Regions from separate parts of the Homo sapiens genome. Here regions 1, 3 and 4 are each linked to region 2. The links are contacts of gene promoters, found by promoter capture Hi-C in human tissues and cell types (Jung and others, 2019). All regions are on one chromosome and are shown on one strand. The core of a region is centred on a gene start or on the middle of the fragment in contact, and the rest is flanking DNA. Distances in the headings are between cores, read along the strand shown.

Region 1 (5,979 bases), core at 2,499-4,998, 520 kb before region 2:
TGTCTATTTGATAAAAGCCATTTTAACTGGGGTGAGATGATATCTCATTATGATTTTGACTTGCATTTCTCTGATGATTAGTGACGTTGAGCATTTTTCCATATACCTGTTGGCTACTTGTATGTCTTCCTTTTAGAAATGTCTGTTCAGATCCTTCATCCATTTTTAATTGGATTATTTGTTTTTTTGCTACTGAGTCATTTGAGTTCCTTATACATTCTGGTTATGGATCCCTTGTCAGCTGAAGAGTTTGCAAATATTTTCTCCCATTGTTTATGTTGTCTCTTCACTTTGTTAATTGTTTCCATTGTTGTGCAGAAGCTTTTTAACTTGATGTGATCTCATTTGCCCATTTTTGCTTTGGTTGCCTGTGTTTTTGAGGTCTTACTCAATAAATCTTTGCCCAGACCAATGTCCTGAAGCATTTTGCCAGAGTTTTCTTCTAGTAGTTTCATAGTTTCAGGTTTTACATTTAAGTTTTTAATTCATTTTGATTTGATTTTTGTATATGATGAGATAATAGGGCTTTACTTTCATTCTACTGCATATGGATATCCAGTTTTTCCAACACCATTTGTTGCAGAGACTGTCGCTTCCTTAATGTAGGTTCTTGGCACCCTTTTAAAAAAATGAGTTCACTGTAGATGTATGGATTTGTTTCTGGGTGTTATATTCTGCTCCATTGGTCTATGTGTCTGATTTTATGACAGTATTATACTGTTTTGGTTACTATAGCTTTGTAGTATAATTTGAATTCAGGTAATGTGATGCCTCCAGCTTTGTTCTCTTTACTCAGGATTGCTCTGACTACTCTGGGTCTTTTGTAGTTCCATATAAATTTTAGAATTTTCTTTTCTATTTCTGTAAAGAATGTCATTGGGATTTTGATAGGGATAGCATTGAATCTGCAGATCACTTTGGGTAGTATAAGCATTTTAACAATGTTGATTCTTCCAATCCATAAATGTAAAGTATCTTTCCATTTTTTTTTGTCCTTTTCAATTTCTTTCATCAATGTTTTATAGTTTTCCTTGTAGAGATCTTTCACCTTTTTGGTTAAATTAATTCCTAGGTATTTTTTGTAGCTATTGTAAATGAGATTGCTTTCTTGGTTTATTTTTCAGATTGTTCACTTCTGGCTTGTGGAAATGCCACTGATTTTTGCATGTTGATTTGGTATCTTGCAACTTTACTGAATTCATTTATCAGGTTTTGGTGGAGGCAGAGTCCTCTACATATCATTCTATGTATCTGAATTTTATTTGAAATGCACATTAAACCATGGAGTGATTTTTTTCTACTGTAGTTTAGATCTATATAATTAATTCCTTGAGAGTTGAAAACTTACCTCAACTTCAGATGTGATCTTATCCTTGGTGAGGTTTCAGTGGAGGCAGAGCTTTCTACATATCATTCTAGATATCTCCTCCTTGTGACACAGCAATAATACCTTAAAGATTTTTCCCTGCCTCATGAGCAACCATTTCTCTCTGGCCTCAAGGATGTCTCATGTGTTGGCATACCCGCTGTGCTCTATGAGTCCCAAGTTGGATGGTTGAGAGATTTAGTGTGAGTTGCCGAACACAGGGCTTTTAAAATGTAAAATGTGTGCCAGACTCATGGCCTGGAGCCCCAGTCAGATTGTGCATTTTGATCTTTATACTACATAAGGAGACTCGCTTATGTGTGAAATGGGAAATCAAGGCAGGCTGTCAACATCAGTGGGTCATCAAATTATGATCTTTCTATCTTCCAAAAATCCCACAAGCCTTGCCACGTCTCTTTGTCTGAACACTGATATTACTGTAGCTCAGGTTCTCATACTTTCATCAGGACAATTTTTATAGTCTTTGTTCTTTTTTTCTCCAGCATCTCATTCTTCTGTTCTGCCTTCCATATCACTACTATAAATGTCTGTAGGTGTGCCACTCCCTTGCTCAGAAAGCATCAAACATTACAGACCACAAATTTACAAATTCCTAAACATTGTACTCGAGGTCCTTCCTGGTCATTTAATTGTCCATTTACTAATTCATCAAAGTCCCCTCCCATGAGATATCTCTCTGTGTCATGTCTTAACTTTAAATAATGATAATAACAACTATGACAGTATTAATAATGATATTTCTTTAATAATCAGGTATAATCTATTACAAGATTCACTCTCAATTTAATAATAGCTTTTCAGAAAGAAAAGAAACACTACTACACTAAATCAATGAACATTTTAATGACAAGACATACTGAAATTCCAGAAAGATTAAAACAGGAAAAAGTTGTAGGTCTGGGAGTTAAAGACATATGCTAATAGGTACCATTTATTTAGTGTCCACAAAGGGCTCAGTAATTATTTAGCTAAAGAACCTTTTCTTGATTCATTCTGCCTCCAAGAAGCTCTCAACCATGTAGTCCTGCCCTCTCTGCATGACTTTCTGGATCGCTTTCTGTGCCAAAAGCAAACTTCACACGCCTTAAGAATGTATGTTCTCCAAGCTTATTTGGCCTGTGAAAAGAATAAGTAGATTTCCTATTAGCTGTGTAATATTTGCTACATTTTAAGGAAAAAGTGCTGTTGAAAATAGGATCCAAACCAACCAAGCCCCAAGACCAAAACAGAGACCCCAAATATTTGTTCTCTATTGCTACCAGTTGAGGATTGATGATTTCTGCTTCTCAGGAAGAGCGTAGGGGGTGAAAGTGGGAGGTCAGCTCTTTTTGTCTGAGAAAATAATTTTCTTTCTTTCAAGGTATTAGCAATGCAATTATTTCATCAAGGTGAATTAGTTCTCTACTTGGGTCCCAGCCTGGGGTTTCACTTGGAATTTTTCTTCACCACTTTCGGCCTCTAAATATTTGACCGAGAGTTTGAGTTCGGATTAAGCTGTCACAGATCTTGATTTGATAAGGGGAATGAAATTAAAATGGACAAAAAGAAGTGAGGCTAATTGGCACTTCCAAGTAATTTTTCCTTTACAATTAGCCAAAGAAAATTTTGTGGGGCAGAGTGATGCTTGCATTCTCCCTGAAGCTTCTTTGTGTGTGCCCGGGAGACCCCTGGCCAGGCCTCAACCCTGTCAGTCTCTCTGAGCGCCGTTCTCAGGGTATAATTGAGCTGGGCTTTGTTGTGAGCATCTATACACATTTAATGAGACTTATGTGTCTGTGCTCAGAGGATTCCAGATCCTCCACTACATTTCATTTGGAATTAATCCGACGTGGGCTGTTCTCCAGGCTTAATAGCTGAAAAGCCCTTTCCAAAGGGAAAGAATTCAGTGATAAAGTTTAATAAAGTTTAGTATGAAAGCTAATTCTTCATAAAACCCTGAAAAATTTTCCCCCAAAGTCCAGACACCACAACGATTGTATACCTCAGGATTTCATTTCTGTCCTCCTGCCTTGGGGCCCATGGACTGCAAGCAATGAATCTGCATTGGTAAATAAAGCATAACTTCATGACAGTTTAATGGGGTTGGGGAAAATCATTGGACCTTTATTTTTTGCAAAAGTGGCTCTTCCTATGTGTCTCGCTATGGTGAACCATAATGGGGGATTTGCTAGAGATAAGATCCTTAAAGTGAGACTAAAATAAACACAAAGGTAATCTTACTCCATTTCTGGGCTTAGGCTGTCTACCAAAGAGCAGCAAGTTCATTGCAAAAATGAATGGGATTCCTGGCCAGACAGTTCAAGGGGAGGAAAGGTGGGAGCTGGCAAGAGGGGAGAGAAAAAACAAGCAGCTGGTAGCCCTCCTTGGTGTGGCCCCTCTGCCTTAGTACCCTCCCAACTGGCCACTAGTCCATCCCCACCCCACTGTGGCTTCCTCTGTTTCAGCCTCACTCAAGCATAGCTCATCTTCAATGCCATAGTTTTAAATTTGCCTCTGGACTTGAATATCCTTTTTCACTTCTTTGCTTTGCTTCTCCCTACACATCCTTCAAGCATCATCTCTTTGGAAAGCCTTCCAGCTGTCCTCTGTTTGTTCTCTCAAAATCCTCTGCTCAGTGTGCTCTCTGAGCTTGTTGATGGTGTTGAAAGTGTCATTTATCTGTATGCATAAGAACCTCTTGGCCGGGCGCGGTGGCTCACGCCTGTAATCCCAGCACTTTGGGAGGCTGAAGCAGGTGGATCACCTGAGGTCAGGAGTTTGAGACCAGCCTGGCCAACATGGCGAAACCCCATCTCTACTAAAAATACAGAAATTAGCCAAGTGTGGTGGCACACACCTGTAATTTCAGCTACTTGGGAGGCCGAGGCAGGAGAATTACTTGAACCTGGGAGGCAGAGGTTGCAGTGAGCTGAAATTGCGCCATTGCACTCCAGCCTGGGTGACAGAGCAAGACACCATCTCTGAAAAAACAAAAACAACAACAAACAAAACAAAACAAAACAAAAAACTTCTTGCCCTTGACTGTGAGCCAATTGAGGTCAAGCACTGAGTATTTATTTATTACTTCATCTGCTTATTCAATCATTGAATCAGTACTTATTCAACACATACTATGTGCTGAGTACTGTGCCAAAAATACAATGGAGCTTGTGACATGCACATCCTCTGTTTCAGACTAGTGAGGGAGACAGAAAACACAGTACCCTCCCCGCAAAAAAAAATGTGAAAAAGAAAGAAAACAGGTGCTGAGATAATGAAATGGGATGACCACCGTACCATAAACAGGATCAGGAAGCAGTTTCCTTGAGGATGTGGTATGTAAGTTAAGACCCAGAAAAGGAGAAACTAGCTTTAGAAAAGTGCATATTAACTGCTCAATGACTGATTGAATGAATGAATCTAAATGGGAGGTCCTTGTAGTCCACTGAGTTCAATTTAAAATACTGTTGAGAGTAAAGTCAGTGAGTGCCTCCCAGGGCAGTGTTGGAGAGGCTTTGCAAGTGCTCTCTGATCCGTTGGTAATGGCTGCTTGGGGCACTTTTGGGGTGGACTCTGTGGTTGTATCCAAGCTAGTGGGAAAGATTGCCCTGAACAATGAATGAGCTCTGCTATGGGTGTGGAGGTAACAGTGATTTGAGTGCTAGACTCTTTAGATCCAGATGGACTGACTGGCAGGAGGAAGCATTTCTCATTTTTCACTTCTAATCTTTCCTTTTTGCTCTCTGATTCTTCTCCCAAATTTCTCTCATTCGTTTCTGCTCCATTAAATCAGCTTATGATATCTTCACGCTTATTTTAAGATTTGCCCAACTGCATATATGTATAGTCCCAAGTATAATGCAAACACAAACACATATATATGTATGTGTACATATATAAAATATATTCATATATGCAAACATCATATGCACACTGCACACACAGGTGTATTTCCAATCAGTTCAATCTCACCTTATGTGAACATGAACATCCAATAGCGCTGCCCATTTCCATTTGATACTCAATTACTCATTCTAGTCTTGGAGTAAATATTTTACCTTATCTATATATACAACTGCTTTCAGCAGCCTGGTGAGCCTCAGGGAAATAGGATTTAGATTTGAAATATCTGGATCAAAATCCTAATTTTCCACTTATTGGTAGTAACTTATCCAAGCTTTAACTGTAAAAAATGGATTTAATAGGAATAACAGATACCACACATGCATCAGAAAAAGTTGGAAGATCAAATAAGACAATGCGTATGAGTACATTTGAAAAACTTCAGATTTAGAAAAGTACTTTTTCATAAATATATTTCAACTTATCTACTCCATATTTGCCTCTTTGTCCTTGGTACTCTGATGTGTAAGATCTTAGAAGCAGGGTTCATTTGCTTATTCTAGAAAATTGTTAAGTATAAATTGGTTCTTCTTTTTTTGTATTTTTTCTGAGGCAGGGTCTTGCTCTGTCATCCAGGCTGGAGTACAGCGGTGTGATGATAGCTCACTGAAGCCTCAATCTCCCAGGCTCGAGTGATCCTCCCACTTCAGCCTCTTGAGTAGCTGGCACCATAGGCACGCATCACCACTCCCAGCTAATTTTCAAACTTT
Region 2 (6,051 bases), core at 2,234-4,733:
CCTTCCAGGTATGCAATTAAAAACCATCACATCCTCATTTTTTAGAAACTTCTCTCCTCTCTGAGAAGAACCCCTGCTTTCAACAGGGATGTTGATTTCACAGCATTTCATACAACCCCATACTCGGCACCTGTCTTGGGCCACTCACATTAGTAAAACACGTTAGAACCACTGCTCCTCTTGAGAGATGCTGTAAAAGGCACTGGTGCAAATGAAAATAAAACATCACTTCAAAATTCTACCCAAAGATCAAAAGGCTAAATTAAGATAGTGCCCTTTCAGTTCTCCTCAACTGCACCTTCAAAGCATGTTGTGAATGTTTAGCACATCGCTGGTACCAGAAGAAAACTCCAAGTTCATATTTTAGATGAAAATGTCTTACTGCTCTTAACAGGTTCTGAGTCACCAGGCACTGTATGGGCAAGAACAACTCGTTGACCAATTTTTTGTTTGTTTGGTGTTATTTTCTGTTCAGCCAGTCACAGGAAATTTTCCACTTGACAATTCCTGTTTCTCACTAAAGTTCTTAACACCATCTGTGAGCAGTGTGCTCAGCAGGGGGAGGACGGGGGGCCAAGGAGGACTTTCCTTCCCCAAACCTCAGTTTTCCCATCTGTTTTATGCAAGGTTTTTACCCAGGGATCTGGCTAACATTCTGTAAGCTCAGCTATCAAGGAGAAAGCAGCCCCATGAATAAACGAAGCATTTTAGAGACTGTCAGTTTCTGGGCGTGGGTCTGCTGCCAGATTTAAAATCTTTACATAATTTTGGGGTAAAACAAGAGATTTAGCTGAAATTAATAGCACAATGGGAAAATGAACTAGGGCTGAACAATAACACAGCGGGACTTCAGATTTGCGGCTGGTAAAGAAGCCTCTCTCGTTCTCAGGGCGCCCCCTCGTGGCCGCTTGACTAAATCCTGACGGAATGTTCAGTTTCTGCAAATACAGAGAAAGACATCCCCCAAAAGAGAAAGGCGGACTCCTGCCTACTGATGCAAATCCCTTTCACTCTAACCTAGTCTGTGGATCAGACAGCTCAAGAACGCCTGACAGGAAGTCCCACTGACGCTCAGAAAGGCGTCTGCCATAAGACAAGGGTTCGTTCGTTAGAAAGGTCTGAGGTAGTGCCCCAGCATTTAGACTTTGGGGTCCCTTCACAGACCCTAGACACACCCTTACCACTTCAACAACCCCTCATAGCCTCACATTCTCAACCTGCAGCTCGAACTGCGTCTGTTTTTCATTATTCTGCTTCCCACCTTCCCAGTGCGATTCTTCAGCAGCTATTAAGACAACATGAGCAGGGATCTAAGCTTAGTTTTTGCTTATTCAACATCCAGCCTGGGGAATATCACCTCAGAAGAAAAGCATGAATGAAGTGCACGTTTCCCAGCCTCTTCTTCCACAAACCTGAAATTGCCTTCATCAGAGGCCACCCTTACAACCCTCCCCTTTAACAATTTCATCCTACGAAAATGGCACCTGCCCAGAGTGAATTCTCAACTACTTGCTTGCTGTAGAATTTATTACAGAGCCAGCTTTAAAAAGAAATGTACGCCATCTCAAATTTCCAATTAATTGATAACAGATTTTTTTTTAAAATAACGTTATGGGACGAAGTTATATAGACCCAAACATCAAATCTGAGAAATGGGTTGGGAGGGCGTTATCCGGGTATCCAGATATTTGAGAATTTGGGGACTGAACTTTGCTGACTGGCACCCCCATGTTTTTTTCACAGAACTGTTCCTGCCGAAATGCAAAAGAAACATGTCAATACTAAGCTGCTATTTTATTTGACAGCTCATTTTCCTTTTTCCCTGCAGTCATTTGTTGTTTATAAGCAAACCTGAGCCTCCAAAACACCCCCAAAAGTGCACACAAGGAGTCCCATAATCAGTTTCTGACTTTGGCCCTAAATCGATTAGAATACATCTGATCTGCTTCAAATCAAAGAACCATGTTAATTTTCTGCCACACACCACACAAAATCTTTCTGCAACAGTCAGTCACTTTGAACCCAACTCTCTAGCCACAAGCAGTGTGGATTTCAAGGGCCTGTTCTGCAGAAGTGAAAATAACAACAAACCAAGGCTGGGACAAGGCAGACAGACCCCAAGGCACTCAAAGCACTCCTTGGAGCTGTGCAAATGGTGCCAGGACCCTGGCAGGGTGTCAGCTGTCACAAGAGCAGCGGGGCCAGACCCCTTCAGCGGTTTGGTAGCCCTGCAACCAGGAGCTGAAACACAACTGAGCCTGCTGCAACTAAGCACAGCTATCTCTGTAGCTACCCATGCCCTGGACATTTCGGTCCTCCCAAAGCCATGATGCAAACTGTTAGAATCCTCAGGCTTGCAGTAGTCTTTATTTTTGCTCCCTAACCTTGTCTCAAAAACAGGCAAGAGTCGCCCTCCCTTGCAGTCACAGCAGTATCAGGGCGATGCAGAGTCTGAGTGGGAGGATGCAGAGCAAGGAGCTGCGGGCAGATGGGTGGAAGGGGGTAGGGACACCTACAAAACACCGGACTTGAGGGGCTAGCTCCTAGCTGGGAATGTGGTTCTTTGGAGAGTTGTGGAAATAAGACGTTTCGGGGCATGGTCTAAATGAGTGCCTGCGAGGGAGAGAGACCCCGGCCGTCCCAACGCTGCAAAGTGTTTGCAAATCTAAAACATTCCTTTGCTGCTAGGATTAAATTTTTAAAAACAAACCAAAAAATAAAATAAAATATGTGCAGACAGGATGTAACAAGTGTTTCAGGACAGAGACACGCCTGAGTCACGGGGTGCTGGAGAAAGAGTGAGGAGTCTGTCTCGGGGCTTCCCAATGAGCCCCCTCTCTGTCAAGAGAGCCCCAGGGCGCACAGACCCCCGCCTCGCACGCCCTCAGTCCCCGGCCGCGTCCACCCAGCGCCCCCCGCACCCTCCAGGATTGCCCCACTCACCACTCGGCCAGAAAACCTCTCGGTGGCCCGCTTGACTTTGCCGTAGGTGCCTTTGCCCAGGGTCTCCTGCAGCTCGTAGCGGTGCTTCAAGTTGTGCTTGTGGTGATGCCGCTTCACCCCGTGCGGCTTCCTGGGCTCCAGGGCTGCAGTCGCCCCCGCCACCGCCTCTCGGGGAGAGCCCGGCGCCCCCAGCCCCAAGTCGGGGCGGTCCCCCGCCACAGGCGCGGCGGCCCCTTCCATGTCCAAGCGCGGGGCGAGCCGGGCTACAGAGGGCAAGACCGGGCACAGCGCTGGGATGTCGGGGTCCCCACCGAGGGAAGCCGCTGTACGCTCAAGGTCGCCCCCGCAGCATCAGGGAGGCGGCCCGATACCGCTCGGACTGCGGCTCGGTCACTGGCGGCGGCGGGGACTGCACATCTGGCGCCCGCGGCGCGCACGGTCCGCGCACCGCCCCCCGGCCGCGGCGAGCTGTGGAGCGTCGGGCGAGGTGGCGGCGGTGGCAGGGGAGGCGGTGGTGTTTGCAGGAGGGAGGGGAGAGGGTGGCTCGCAGCGCAGGAGGGGGAGTGTTATGTGGGGCGCCGCGCCCCCCAACCCCTCCCCGGGAGGACGCGCAGACGGGGCGGGGGCGGCGCTCGCGCGGCCCCAGGGGAGGGGGAGCGAGGGGCGGTGCAGCCAGGGCTTCCCCCACCTCCCTGCAGCCACCCGGGGCCGGGGCCGCCGTGAGCTGGGAGGGGGATGGGAGCGTGTCGCGACTCGCCCTTTGTGCGGCGCGGCGTAGGCCACGGCGGCGGCGGCGGCGGCGGCCAGGAGTGCTTTGTCCTCGCTGGGCCGGAAGGGACCGGGAAATTCCAAGCCGGGCGCCCCCTCCCCGGGCGCTCTCGGGCTCGCCAGTCGCAGCTACCGCGGGCCCTCCGCCGCCTCGGGCTCCGGGGCCGGTCGCTCGGCCTGGATTCCTGCTGGCGCCGGGGCGGCGGTTGCGGCTGGCCGAGCCCCGGGGCCGGGGAAGAAAGAGCGCCGCGAGCCGGGGGCCGCCGGGACCTGCTCGCGATACGGCCGGGGCCGCCGCGGGCCTGGGCGCCCCTTCATTTTCTTGTAGGTGTCGCCGCAGCCTGGCGGCCGGAGCTGGGGGAGGGGGCAGGGAGGCCTGGTGTTCGGTTACAGGCGGTGACTCACGGACCTTGCCCGCCCGAGGCTGGCACCCCGCGGGGCAGAGCTGCGCCCGCCTGGGGCAACTCCGAGTCCAGGAGAACCCCAAGAGCGGCGCTTTGGCCCCGGCCCCCGCGCCCTCTCCGAAGAAAGGAGAGTCAGGGACGGAGGGAGGCCGGGAGGCTGAACCCCGGGCCCGCCGTCGAACCGCCGGCCCTCCGACACCATCTGGACCCCGGCGGGGACAGCCGCCTGGAAGGGGAGGAAGGCCAGGGACGTGGAAGAGATGGGGCTCTAAAGGCGCCGGGACGGAGCTGGCTCCCCAGAGGCGCCCACCCTGCCAGCGAAGGCCGCCATCGGAGGTGGGCAAACCAGGGACCTGGGGTGGACCAGGACCCCGGGCCTGCTGAGCAACCCGTTTGCTGAGCAGGAGGCGATTTGCAGGCCTCTTGCCTCCTTAGGCCTTGGGAGATTTCCTTTCACTGAAAGGGCCAGATCCTGGCGATGGTGACAGGAACGGTACCCCGCACGGTAAGGGTCAGGCAGGAAGGGCCTCCCACCGCGGCGTGGCTGCCGCCGTTCTAAGAAGAGACCATGAAAAATAAGGAAGAAGGCTAGAGAAAAAGAGGTCTTAGGGAAATTTTTTTTTTTAACAAGTGGTGCAATGTACCAGACTAGGGTGGGAAGAGTGAAGGCTGAAGAAGGTCTGGTGTTCTGCAGATCGCATGGCGGTTCTTTTCCACCAGTGGACCTCACTGGGGCCTCCTCTGCAGCTCTCAGGTGCAGCCCTTCCTCTACATTCCCGCCGCCTTCATTCCTGTCTACCCCTGGTCACCTTACCCCGGACTCCAGCAACAGCCCGCTCTCCCCAACCCTCCCCGGGAGCCTCCTCACTGCTGCCAGAGTAATGGCCTGAAACACTGCCCTCATCCTCCACACGTGTCTCTGCTGTACTCTGACGCGTGATATTCTTACCTGTCCAAACTTTCCTTCTACTGATATTTCACACAAACTTCCCTGCCCCTTCTTCCCTTCCCCAGGAGCAATGACAGAACACAGACACAAAGGCGCATCATGCCTATTCAATTCCTATTCTGTCCACCGCATTTGCAGGGCCTCCCTGCCACCCACCCCCATCCTGAAACTGTTCTGCTTCTATACAGTTTGTGGACGTTGTGCCTATAGATCCCACAGTCAGGATGAGTGGCATGCAGGTTGAGTCCTGGCTTCCCAGAGGATTGGCTGTGTGGCCTTGGTCAAATGACATAACCTCTCAGAGCTTCGGTTTTCTCTTAAGATATGGATTTAGCAGATCTATTGTAGAGATAAACACATTGTGTCTACAGTAGTATTTTAAAATATTTTCTACTTCTTCCCCTCCCCTGCGATGTGGTAGAAATCCACTACCCCATCCTCTTGAAGTTAGATGAGACCATCGGACTTGCTTAGGCCAATGGAATGAGAGCAGAAGTGATTGTGTTGCTTTCACTTGGAACCTTTAGGAGCCAGTGAGCAAATCCCCATGTCTTCTTTTTCCTATCTTGACAATCATGGTGGTACAAAGTTGGAGCCTCCCCAAGCCAGCCTGAGTCTCTGTGTAAAGATGGCAGAAAATCCCAGCCAATCTGCATTGGAAAAGTAGTGTCAGCAAATATTAAACTTTATTTATGTTAAGTCAGTGGGATTTGTTAAAGCAGCATAACCTGGCTTATTCTGGCTGATAGTGTTACTCCCAGATATGTGGGACTTCATCAGTATCTATTGAATCAACAGCATCATCTACCATAGGCTGGTACTGTTTTATGACAGTAAACCCTCCTCTGTAAAGTAGCTGTTTACAATCCCTATTTTCAATTGAAGAAACCGTATCAGAAAGGTTAAGTAATTTCCCAGAGGTTACACAGTTTGTAAATGGCAGGACCAGGATTTAAACCCTACCTGTCCAGTTCCAAAGCTCCCCCT
Region 3 (5,927 bases), core at 807-3,306, 770 kb before region 2:
TGGATCATGAGGTCAGGAGATTGAGACCATCCTGGCTAACATGGTGAAACCTCCTGTCTACTAAAAATACAAAAAATTAGCCGGGTGTGGTGGCGGGTGCCTGTAGTCCCAGCTACTCAGGAGGCTGAGGCAGGAGAATGGCGTGAACCTGGGAGGCGGAGCTTGCAGTGAGCTGAGATCGCGCCACTGCACTCCAGCCTGGGTGACAGAGCAAGACTCCGTCTCAAAAAAAAAAAAAAAAAAATTGGAGAGCTCCAGCTGCGGGAAGGTGCATGTTTCTCTAATGCAAATTAGCATGGGCCTACAGTGTATGAAGCAGGAATTAGGATCACACAAATCTGGGTTTGAATTCTGGCTCTATGATTTAGCTTCGTAAGTTCGGTCATGCTACTCAGTTTTTTCATTTTTAAAATGTGAGTAGTACTGGTCTTGCAAGATTGTATAAGGATTAAATGAACTAATATAATAGGATTAGCAAAGTGCCTAGTATAGTTACACAATCAGGTTGAGAGATGGGATGATGGTCAAAGCTTTTGCAAAAGCAGTATGGAGGTGAATCGCCCACTTTAGGAGAAGCCACTACGTTGGTCTTTCACAGGAAGTGTTTTTGACTTTTACATCTTTCTACCTGAGAAGCAGAGTGGTGAATGAGAATGGAGCATGGCTTTGGTGCCAGATGGATGGGGTATGGATGTTGGTCATGCTTGTTAGTCTTGTATGTTTATGAATTACATGGCTTTCTGCACCTGGTTCCTCAGGCCTAGGCCCTCAGAGCTGTTGTGAGGAATAGCATGGATGCACGTGCAGTGTCCTGCACTGTGCCTGACACACAGGAGAGACTCATGAATGACACCATTATACCCACGGAGTCCTGGTCTCTAGTCCTAGTGTTGTAGAATAACTGTTTGTGGAAGGAATGGATGAAGTGACAGTCTTATACATGGGAGTGAGTATGCAAAGACAGGCTTTACAACTTACTGGAAGGTTTAAAAGAGTGGATATCTGGCCGGGCGGGGTGGCTCAGCCTGTAATCCCAGCACTTTGGGAGGCCGAGGTGGGAGGATCACGAGGTCAGGAGATCAAGACCATCCTGGCCAACATGTTGAAACCTCGTCTCTACTAAAAATACAAAAATTAGCTGAGCATGGTGGCACGGGCCTGGAATCCCAGCTACTCGGGAGGCTGAGGCAGGAGAATCACTTGAACCAGGGAGTCAGAGGTTGCAGGGAGCCGAGATTGTGCCACTGCACTCCAGGCTGGTGACAGAGCAAGACTCTGTCTTAATTAAAAAAAAAAAAAAGAGTGGACATCTTATAAGTCTTTATAGGTAGTATTTTTTTTAAGATTTGGCATTATATCTGAAGCTTAATTTATTATCCAATAAATATGGCAACTACATTATCATTTCCTGCCAGTTATACATGTAAGGTTGTTGATTAATTTTATAATGGAGAACACAGATTGAGTTTTAAGATATTGAGTAATTTAACAGGAGAAAGTAAATGACTATTTTCTTACATTTGGGAAAGTGAAAATATATTTTAAAACCTTGAATATATCCTTAAGCACAGTTAAGCAAAAGGGGAAAGAATTAAAATAAACGGATATGTAAATGGATGTGAAAAGAATAGTCATGGCCGGAAATGTGTGTCATAAGCTACCAGTTATATACAGATTCAAGTGATTTCTTGAGAAAGTTAATCACTCAGGACCAAAGTAAACAGTTCTTATCAGAACTTACCTTGAACGAGTTTGTCCTCATCATTTCTCCATTATCTATGCTAAAGGATTATAAATCCATTTTAATTAAAAGTAGTGAACAACTCTCTCTTATACCACATCAATAAGCATAACACCATTAGTATGACTTTGACACTTGAACTAAAAAAACAATCCAGCGTTAAGAGGTAAATGAAGCTGATAACCATCTAGTGAATTTAGGTTATATGCTCAGTTTGGATGAATTAGGTCTCAAGATGGATTTTGCACTCTCTTCCAGTATTAGCTGTTCATGGCCAGCGTTCACCAGATAATTATTAAATCTACACTTTCCTTCTTTATAGACTTGGACTTACTGGCTGTTGCAATAAAGCAAAAATCTCATGCACATATACAGTCACATTTGAAATATTCACAGCTTTTAAGTGGGTAAAATCATAGTTAGACAATCTCTGAATCAGAAGAGTCAATGACATTTAGATGTTTGCAGTCTGCTTTTTGCTCAACTGAAGCCCCTTAGTGTTACAAGTTGAATTCAGCCAGATACATTGGAATCTTGTTGAATTATTTTTTTTTTCTTTCAGAAAAGCAACTTATGTATGCCAACTAGTGCTTCAAGGAAAGTGTCCTGATTCTCTTAGAAATACGCCAAGGAATTCTGGTAGAATATGGACTCCTTTTTTTTTTTTTTTTTTTTTTGAGACCAAGTATCCCTCTGTTGCCCAAGCTGGAGTGTAATGGCGTGATCTCTGCTCACTGCAACCTCCACCTCCCGGGTTCAAGGATTCCTGTGCCTCAGCCTCTTGAGTAGCTGGGACTACAGGCGTCACCATGCCTGGCTAATTTTTGTATTTTTAGTAGAGATGGGGTTTCAGCATGTTGGCCAAGCTGGTCTCGAACTCCTGACCTCAGGTGATCCGCCCGCCTCGGCCTCCCAAAGTGCTGGTATTACAGGCATGAGCCACCATGTCCAGCTTGGATTCCTCTTAATGCAAGGAGAGAAGCTGTGCATTTTAAAGTAGTGATCCCCTCTAAATGTATCCTTTTAAATATTTCTCCCTCTCTTTGCAGTAGATCATGTATGAAATGGCTCATGTTTTTAGATAAAAAAAAATCAAATAGGCATTAACTCTTTTTGCACTGAAGAAGTCTTTCAGTACCTATAGTTGTGCCACTGAAGTGTCATAAGAGATCTAAAACCATGTATTAGGACTGGAAGAGACCTGAGGGGTCATCTGGTCAACCAGCTTATTTTACAAATGAGACACAGGCTGGCAGCTCGCCCACAGCCTGTCTGTCACACAGGGAGTGGGTGGTACACACAAGACGATAACTCAGGCTTCTTTCCAATTTCAGCTGCCCTCAGTTTTCCATTTCATTTGGCAGTTGTGCATTTTGGCATTTGCTGGATTCACACATTTTGGTTTGTAGAAAATTACCAAGTTTTAACGTATGAATGATTGAGGTGAAGGCAGAATATTGTCACAGAAACACTTGATGGATAGTTTTGCTCCTCTACTTAAGTCTGATGGAAACATTTGAAATAAAATTGACTTCAACTCAGTAGTCCCTTTTTCTCATAACCAAAAATGAAGTCCCCGACTATGTAACCAAGTGTCTCATAGCAAATGTTTCTGACCTTTTAGAACAGAAGAATCCGTAACAGAAGATGACAAGAGGAGGTATGTTTGGTATTGCAGCTGGCTTTAGTTTGAATGGTTTTGGCCATACCTCATGGATTTAACACACTGTAGCATATTCCCAATAACACAGATTCTGCCAGGAAAACTGTTGGCACAGAGAATACAGGTAGGGGCATATGGTCTGAAAAAGAACTTGCCCAGGATTCATCATCTTTGCTCCTTCCAAGCAAACTTGGTTTTTGTCCTATGCATGTGGCGTGTGCTAATTTTCATCCTATGACCTTTGGGTGTGCTCTTCTCCCTAACTGGATGACTTCCCTTCATTCTCTCAGCCTTCCCTGTCCTCCTACTTCTCTGATTAACTGCACTCCACCCTCATTTCTCTCTTGCTGTCTCTGCCCTCATTTTGTATCTCTCTATTAGTAAGATATCTTTGTGTGTCCATAATGCCTAATATCATACCATGTTGACCACTCTGAATTATTGATAAATGTTAACTGTAACATGTCACTGTATGATATTTAATACTCTAATAAATTGTAACATCCCAAAGTCTTTTCTTCTTTCTCATTACAAGTAAAATATCTAAAAATTCTACTAACGCAATACATCTTTCTTTTTTTTAAAAAAAATAGCTTCTTTTTAACCTAGGAAACCAATTATATTCCCAAGGGCCATAATATTCTAGATTCTACTTTTGAAAAATCATGAGTTATTTTAATAATTATATAATTGTTTGGAGTACTCCGTGCTTCTGTTGCTTCCTGTAAATAGATAGTACCATTTAAATTGGTTTGATTTCTTTTTATCAAGAAACTATGGAGGAGTATATGTTGGCCTACCATCTGAAGCTGTCAATATGGTGTCCAGTCAAACAAAGACGGTTCGGAAAAGTAAGTGAAATCATGTGCTGTTGATTTTCCCTAATTATTTATTTTTATGTTTTATGAAAAAGCATGAAATTTATATTTCAGCTTACTCGACTCAACCTATGTATTGGTTGCAGTGAACCATGTATAAGTACTGTCTGTTCATTGCAGTCATTGGTTGAAATAGCCACCCACATGGTAAGAAGAATTCCAGAGCATAATTTAGCTTTTATTTGTGGTTATGCTCCATATTTTTAATTTCTTGTTAATTTTAGCAATGATCAGTGTGAAAATGAAAGCTAATATTTATGTAAGTTTATGGCATTTTCATAGAACAGAAAGGTAAATTTCTGTAATATAAGATGACTGACTGATAAGCAATCTGCTGTTTAAAGGAAAAATAATTGCCTATTGTATAATTAAATGAAATGAGGCTTCATTTTCTGAGTTTTAATAGTTAGCAATTATGGGGCCAATGAAGTCCTTTTGACTGATAGATATCTTCTTGCTCAAGGCAATTTTTAAGCGAGGCTCATGGTAAACAATGCTGATTTATAAAACCACTGTACAATGTATTGTCTGATGTATAGTTTTAAATGACTATTAACATGTTTGCTTTATACACAAGGCTGTATTACATTATTTTGAACATACTATATTTGTTCCTCATTGTTCTTTCTGTACTTTGTGATTTAGACTAGCAAATACATGTATGTCATTACTGTTTAATGTTCTATAGAAAATTAGAATATGCTATTTATAATCTGAACATTTAACTTTTCTTAATTTTCTCTTTAAGATTAGAAGAAAATAACATCATGACTCAAGAATCAAGAGGTGCTGTATATTTTTCTAAATAATTCTATATATTTAGACTTATTGATGAATGGACTGTAGATATTATTTGCTCTATAAAAAATTTCTAAGAAATCTTGAACTTTACAATTTAAAGGAGGGGTTTCATCCTATGGAATTGAGTGTGTTTTATTGCATAGAGGTGAATAATCAGATCAATTTTCTTTCAGCTACTTTTTTCATTTCATTTTGTTAAAAATGAATATTTATTTAATAAGAGCAAGCTAAGTGTCTCCCTAAAACATTGAGATCTCACCCTTCTTCATTGCAGAAATCTTTGAGGGCCTAGGACTTGAGAAATGACAGGGAGAGACCAGAGAGGCTAGAACTGGGGATTAGATTAGAATCGATTTTAAGTGGTATTAGCCAGTGGTTAATATACAGAGAGGAGATGTGTCAGTACCAGAACTCCAGTAGAGATGGGCAATCGGTCAATTAAGTCCCAAACACTTAATATTGATTCTAATCTAACTGAACAGAGATGTAGTTATGCAGGAAGGAATAGTAAGAATCAGAGAATAAGTTAACAGATTGGTTTTACAAAACACGTTCAGTATGGACATGGCAAAGAGCTAGGAGTTAGAATTATAATAAGAAACAAGAACAACGACAAGAGAAAAATAGCTTTCATTTGTTAACTACCCTACATACCAGTCTTTAAAAGACATGGAGCAGCATTTCCATACAGACAAAGAATCTTAGTTCACTGGGTCCACCAAGGGTCCAACAACACATTCCATGCTGGGCTCTCCACTGTATTTCACTCCTGGTGAATGACACCCAACCTCTTTTGAGGCCTCCAGTGATTAGGAACGTCCTATCTCCTGAGATAGCCTGTTCT
Region 4 (6,541 bases), core at 2,959-5,458, 790 kb before region 2:
GTGTCAGCCTCCACAGGTTTAGTGGGTCGGTCCCACAAGACTGCCCTCCCTTCAGACTCTAGTTGCAAATATTGCGCTTCCAGGTTGCCACACTTCTGTCAGCTATAGATTTGGGGGTCTTCACAAATCTCTTCAGGCTCAATGATTTGCTAGAATAGCTCACAGGACTCAGGAGGACACTTTCCTCATGTTTACTGTTTGATCATAAAGGGTCTGAATGAACAGCCAGTGGAAGAGGTACTTGGGGAAGTCTGGAAGTGTCCCAAGTGCAGAAGCCTCTGGCCCCAGTGGAGTTGGGCTATACCACAGTCCTGATGGGTAGATAAGTTCACCAACCTGGAAGCTCACTGAATCCAGTAATATGGTTTGGCTGTGTCTCCACCCAAATCTCACCTTGAATTGTAGTAATCCCCACATGTCAAGGGCTGGGCCAGATGGAGGTAACTGAATCATGGGGGTGGTTCCCCCATACTGTTGTCGTGGTAGTGAATAAGTCATGAGATCTGATGGTTTTATAAATGGGAGTTCCCCTGCACAAGCTCTCTTGCCTGCTGCCATGTAAGATGTGACTTTGCTCCTCCTTTGTGTTCCACCATGACTGTGAGGCCTCTGCAGCCATGTGGAACTGTGAGTCAATTAAGCATGTTTCCTTTATAAATTACCCAGTCTAGGGTATGTCTTTATTAGCAGCATGAGAACAGACTAATACATCCAGTTATTTTGAGGTTTTCGTAGGTGCTGTGGTTTGAGTGCGTTCCCCAACATGTGTTGGAAATTTAATACCCAATGCAGTAGTGTTGGGAGGTGGGACCTAATAAGAAGTGATTAGGGCTTGAGGGCTCTGCTCCCATGAATGGATTAATGTGTTTAATCATAAATAAACTGGGGGACGAATGGAATGGGTTGGTTATTGAGAGAGTGGGCTGGTTATTGAGAGAGTGGGTTGCTGTAAAAGCAAGTTTGGCCCCTTCTTGCGCTCTTGCTGTCTTGCCCTTCTGCCTTCCCACATGGGATGAAGGAGCATAAAGGCCCTCACCAGATGTGAGCCCCTCAATCTTGGACTTCCCAGCCTCTAGACTGTAAGAAATACATTTTATTTTCTTTATAAATTATCCAGTCTGTGGTATTCTATAACAGCAACACAAAAAGGACCAAGACACAAGCATGGCTGGTTAAATCCTTTGCCACTGGTGATTAACTCAATCTCCAGCCTCTCTCCTCTCTCTGCAGGTGGCAGGGTGGAGCTCAATGTTCCAAGCTTCTAATCAAGGCTTGGTCTTTCTAGCAAACAGCCCCCATCCTGAAGCCATATAGGGGCTTGGCCAAGAGTCATCTCATTAGAAGCCTCACAGAGAGGCTCCTGTCACTCATCACTCAGGAAATTCCAGGGGTTTTAGGAGCTCTGTGCCAGGAACCAGGGGCAAAGACCAAATATCTTATGATGAAACTGCAATATCAGATTAAGTTTTTTGAATGTTTGAATAGATGGGATTTGCTATGCATTTTTAATTAACTGAGACTTCTGTCATTGAGACTGATGAATAAAATGTTAAAATCTTCTGAAATGTGGAAAGTAAAAGCTAAACAGAGCCAAGGTGAGATGAAGTGATACTGTAAACAACCAACAGTGATGGAAATGTCCTTCTTTACATTCTATTTACAATTTTTATTACTGAAACTGCATATAATACTTTCCTGAGAACAAACCTTTCCCCTCTCCATTTTTAGGAAGATATTTAAAATTATGATTATCATTTCTACAGTTTTGGGAAATAGTCATTAAATCTTTTGACCCCCTCCCCTCCAAATTATAATAGTCTCTCTATATTTTTTGGTGTGTTTTTTTTCCCCACAAGAAACATTGTTACCTTTTTTTCATTTCTACTTCTCCTGAGGCCCTAGGCCCATTGTATTAACCCACCAAGGTTATGTTTAAACAGTAAGGAGCCAATTTGGCAGGACATGAAGTGGTATTAGGATGAATGATGTATCCTTGTGGCCTGGAAAAAAATAGATGTAACATTATACATATTTGCTTAATAAATGATAAAGCACATGAACCACAGATACAGTTTAAAGCAAATGGGATCTTGCCACTATCTAATTTTGATCAAAGCACTTTTTGCATAATTACTTAGATTAGGGATTGCCATTTGGTTAATTACAATAAATATATAAGCAAAGTGTAATTAAAAGGTTGCAGTGAGGGTAATTTTATTTCTGATCATTTTATGATTTTATACTTTTACAGGACAAATAAACTTATGCTTTGCATTTTATGTACCTAGGTACTCTGATAGTTTTGTTTAGGGTTTCCAACATTTGCAACCTTTTTTTTTTTCTTTTGGGAAGTTGTGTGTTAGGGAGTCATATTCTCATTACCCTGGTTACAAGCTTCTCAGTAACCACCATGTTACCTTGCTTCTAAGATGCACATTTTCCTATTAAAAAATGGAGCACATTTTACAATCATACACACACACAGACACACACACACTTCTTGGAGTGTTTCTGACTTCTTTGCCCCACCCCTACCATTGCAGTTATTCAGTTGATGATGCCCTTTCAAATGAGGGCCATTTTAGAACAGAGGGAATGGTCTGTTGACTTTGTTTTAAATGGTGGCACCATGCATCTCCCTTGGGCCTGCTGGGATGTTAAATGGTGAGCCCAGCAGGGAGGAGGCCCTTGATGGTGCCCATAGCTTGGTGCAATCAAGGTGAAGTGGATGGAGAGTTCCTGATGCTGATTAAAATAAGCACTGAATGCACAACATGTGGCCATTTGTAAACTCATTTCTCATTTCACACACGTTACTGTGCTTTGCCTTCCTAGCTGCATTTGTTGGCCCAGTATGTCCTCATTTACTAGATGCTGAAACAAAGTGATTTAGTGACTGTCAGACAAATACTGGCATAGGGATCCGACTCCAGTCATCTGCCTTCTGATTCCACACTGTTCTTACCCCATCACCGTTCTGCCATCCCTGAGATGTAGCAGGGCAGCCTTGGCCACTCTCTTCTTCCTGTGGATTGTACTAGGTCACCCCTCATCTTTAAATGTTGAGGACTCGGCCGGGTGTAGTGGCTCACATCTGTAATCCCAGTACTTGGGGAGGCCAAGGCAGGTGGATCACTTGAGGTCAGGAGTTCAAGACCAGCATGGCCAACATGGAGAAACCCTGTCTCTACTAAAAATACAAAAACAGTTAGCTGGGTGTTGTGGCAGGTGCCTGTAATTCCAGCTACTCAGGAGGCTGAGGCAGGAGAATCGCTTGAACCCAGGAAGCAGAGGTTGTGGTGAGCCAAGATTGTGCTGCCGCACTCCAGCCTAGGCAACAGAGTGAGACTCTGTGTCAAAAAAAAAAAAAAAAAAAGTTGAGGACTCATGGTCCACATTATAATCATTGTTTTCTTCCCTCTGTAAGACTTGCAGAGTCAAAGGCTCATCTCTGGTTCTCCCTTGCCCTGACTCCAGCAAAACCCAAACATACTCTTTATCCTTTTCCACAAAAATAAAAAAATAAAAGCTAAAAAGATATTATTTTCTTTTTAGACGTAAGCTGAAAATTCTAAGCCCCCCCCCAACCAATTAAATGGACCCCTTCTCTTGGCCAAGGTAATTCCTAAGTTAACCTGCAAAACTAGGTCAGGCCATGATGGGAAGTGGGGATTGGACATGCCTCATTATACCCTCTTCCCTTTGAAATTCAGGCACAACTGACCAGCATTTAACATTAAAACAGACCTTAAGACTGACAAAGCAGACTCTTTGTAGCAGTAAGATACCAACATGACAGCAGGCTCTGAAAGAAGTCAGGCCAGGTGTGGTGGCTCATGTCTGTAACCCTAACACTTTGGGAAGCTGAGGTGATTGGATTGCCTCTGCTCAGGAGTTTGAGACCAGCCTCGGCAACATGGTGAAACCCTGTCTCTATTAAAAAATACAAAAATAAGCCAGGCGTGGTGGTGCACGCCTGTAATCCCAGCTACTCAGGAGGCTGAGGCAAGAAAATAGCTTGAACCCAGGAGGCGGAGGTTGCAGTGAGCCAAGATGGCACCACTACACTCCAGCCTGGGTGGCAGCATAAGACTCCAAAAACAAATATAAAAAAAAAAGAAGTCAAAGTATTTTACCCCAAAATATATTTCTTTGACATAAATTTTGAAATGTCAAGCAAAGCTGTCGTTTGTGGGGGGAAATCTGTATTCTGTAGATAAATTCTCTTCCTTTTCCAGGTCTTTTTCCTGATCTTGAATTAGTGTCTGGCCTTTTTTTTTTTTTTTTTTTTGAGACAGAGTCTTGCTCTGTTGCCCAGGCTGGAGTGCAGTGGTGCAATCTCAACTCAATGCAACCTTTGCCTCCTGGGTTCAAGCAATTCTGCCTCAGCCTCCCAAGTAGCTGGGATTATAGGCGCCCACCACCACACCTGGCTAATTTTTGTATTTTTTTTTTAGTAGAGATAGGGTTTCACCATGTTGGCCAGGCTGGTCTCAAACTCCTGACCTCAGGTGATCCACCCACCTCGGCCACCCAAAGTGCTGGAATTACAGGCGTGAGCCACCGTGCCCGGCCTAGCACTTTTTTAAGTCTGATAAGAAACATTTAAAGAAGCTTCATCTGCAAAATAAAACCTTGGGTCTCCAAAATCCCTTATCTTAACTCAAGACAATTCCAGGAATCAATTGATTCCAGATCTTTAAATAAACTCTTTCAACCAATTGCCAATCAGGAAATCTTGGAATCCACCTATCACCTGGAAACAACCCCCCACACCCCCACCACTTTTGAGTTGTCCCGGACCAAACCAGTGTACATCGTACAGGTATTGATTGGCCTCTTATGTCTCCCCATAACGTATGAAACCAAGTTGTAGCCTGAGCACCTTGGACACGTGTTCTCCAGACCTTCTGAGGCTGTATCACAGGCATTCCTTAACCTTGGCAAAATAAACTTCTAAATTGATTGAGACCTATCTCAATACTTTTTGATTTACACAGATTTTCTTCTAGATTCTCATGCTTGACTCTAAAATAAAACGTTCATTTTCACGGGTGTATGGTGGCACTAATTTTTGTTAATTTTTTTCTATCAAAAACACTCTACTGTTGGCAGTTTTTCCTGTGTTAAGATTTTTTTTTAAGTTTAGGATCTTTTGGTTTAATAATCTCTGATTCTAAAGTAGTTTACATAATGTATCATTTTAACAGTAATGGTGGCACAGAAATGTTCTTCCCTGAAGAAAGGAACTAAGATTATTACAAAGTTTAGGTTTAGTCAAAGCCTTAAAAGAATTCGTTTGAGACATAGCCTCAATTATCTTTAGGATCAGCTTTTAATTTGCAGTATTACAGATGCAAAATGAATATCATTGTTTGATTGTTCTTGCAATTTGGCAATAACTTTACCCACAGACTTATTTACTTACTTTGTAGCACATCTTCCTTTATTTTTACACCTCTGTGACTTGTGCAGAAGTTATTTTAATTTCTATTTAATATATATCGAAATTGAAATATTAAGTGTGACGTCTAATAATAACTTAGTTTGCTATTTTTATGTGCCAGCTTTGTGTTAAGTGTTTACATTGTCTTTTTACACATTGTCTTTTTAAATCTTCACAATAACCTTTGAGAAAGATACCTTTTACCCTCATTTGACATAAGGGAGGTGAGGTTTTAAGAGGTTAAAGGATGCTTAATACCATATATCTTGTAGGAGTTGGAACCAAGTCCTGTGCCTCCCAGATAAAGATATTGGGAGGAGGAAATGTGGGCAGAGAATCTGCGAGAAGTAATGGGGATGGAGACCAGAAGAGATGAGCTGTTTTTGTCACATGGGTGGTGTATTAGGGTTCTCCAGAGGGAGAGAACTAATAGGATAGATGAATGTATGAAGGGGAATTTATTAAGGAGGACTGACTCACATGATCATTAGGTGAAGTTTCACAATAGGCCGTCTGCAAGCTGAGGGGCAAGGAAGCCAGTCCGAGTCCCAGAACCTCAAAAGTAGGGAAGTCAACAGTGCAGTCTTCAGTCTATAGCTGAAGGCCCATGAGCCCCTGGCAAACTACTGGTCTAAGTCCAAGAGTCTGAAAGCTGAAGAACATGGAGTCCGATATTCGAGGGCAGGAAGCATCCAGCATGGGAGACAGATGAAGGCCAGAAAGCTCAGCAAGTCTGCTCTTTCCACCTTCTTCTGCCTGCTTTATTCTAGCTGTGCTGATAGCTGATTAGATGGGGCCCACCCAGATTAAGTGTGGGTCTGCCTCTCCCAGTCCACTGACTCAAATGTTAATCTCCTTTGTCAGCACCCTCACAGACACAGCCAGGAATAATACTTTGCATTCTTCAGTTCAATCAAGTAGACGCTCAGTATTAACCATCACAGATGGGAAGCCAATGGGAGCAGAGTTAGAGATGCATGTGACTCTTTTTGGAGCTAGGCTGGTGTGTTTGAGGCTTCCTAATTAATTTAGTCCATTGCTTGCATTAGCGCACAGTTTGACTTAACCTGCCGTGCAGACACCAACTTAAAAGGT

What was found. The method cuts DNA at HindIII sites, captures the fragments that hold promoters and counts their contacts. A contact is called where the count stands out against the background at its distance.
Region 1: a fragment that was not itself captured here is called in contact with the fragment with the promoter of NUAK1 in region 2 in 7 of the 25 tissues and cell types used here (H1 embryonic stem cells, IMR-90 fibroblasts, aorta and 4 more).
Region 3: a fragment that was not itself captured here is called in contact with the fragment with the promoter of NUAK1 in region 2 in 1 of the 25 tissues and cell types used here (liver).
Region 4: a contact is called between a fragment that was not itself captured here and the fragment with the promoter of NUAK1 in region 2, in 1 of the 25 tissues and cell types used here (adrenal gland).

The regions. Positions count from the first base shown.
Region 1 is chr12:105,619,996-105,625,974 of GRCh38, forward strand. No RefSeq gene overlaps it. Among named protein-coding and RNA genes, the nearest start is that of CASC18, 81 kb to the right of the region's middle. The HindIII fragment of the contact is 4,682 bases long and covers 1,408-5,979 here.
Region 2 is chr12:106,135,471-106,141,521 of GRCh38, forward strand. It overlaps NUAK1 (NUAK family kinase 1), which reads right to left and starts at 3,484. Exons shown (of 7, transcript NM_014840.3): 1 at 2,944-3,484. The coding sequence starts at 3,183. RefSeq lists enhancers at 1,913-2,414, 4,806-5,425. The HindIII fragment of the contact is 8,166 bases long and covers 1-6,051 here.
Region 3 is chr12:105,362,442-105,368,368 of GRCh38, forward strand. C12orf75 (chromosome 12 open reading frame 75) reads left to right here. Exons shown (of 6, transcript NM_001145199.2): 3 at 3,366-3,401; 4 at 4,176-4,255; 5 at 5,031-5,068. The coding sequence ends at 5,035. Among named protein-coding and RNA genes, the nearest start is that of C12orf75, 35 kb to the left of the region's middle. The HindIII fragment of the contact is 8,128 bases long and covers 1-5,927 here.
Region 4 is chr12:105,341,389-105,347,929 of GRCh38, forward strand. The region is part of intron 1 of C12orf75 (chromosome 12 open reading frame 75); the gene reads left to right. Among named protein-coding and RNA genes, the nearest start is that of C12orf75, 14 kb to the left of the region's middle. RefSeq lists an enhancer at 2,365-2,921. The HindIII fragment of the contact is 4,765 bases long and covers 1,827-6,541 here.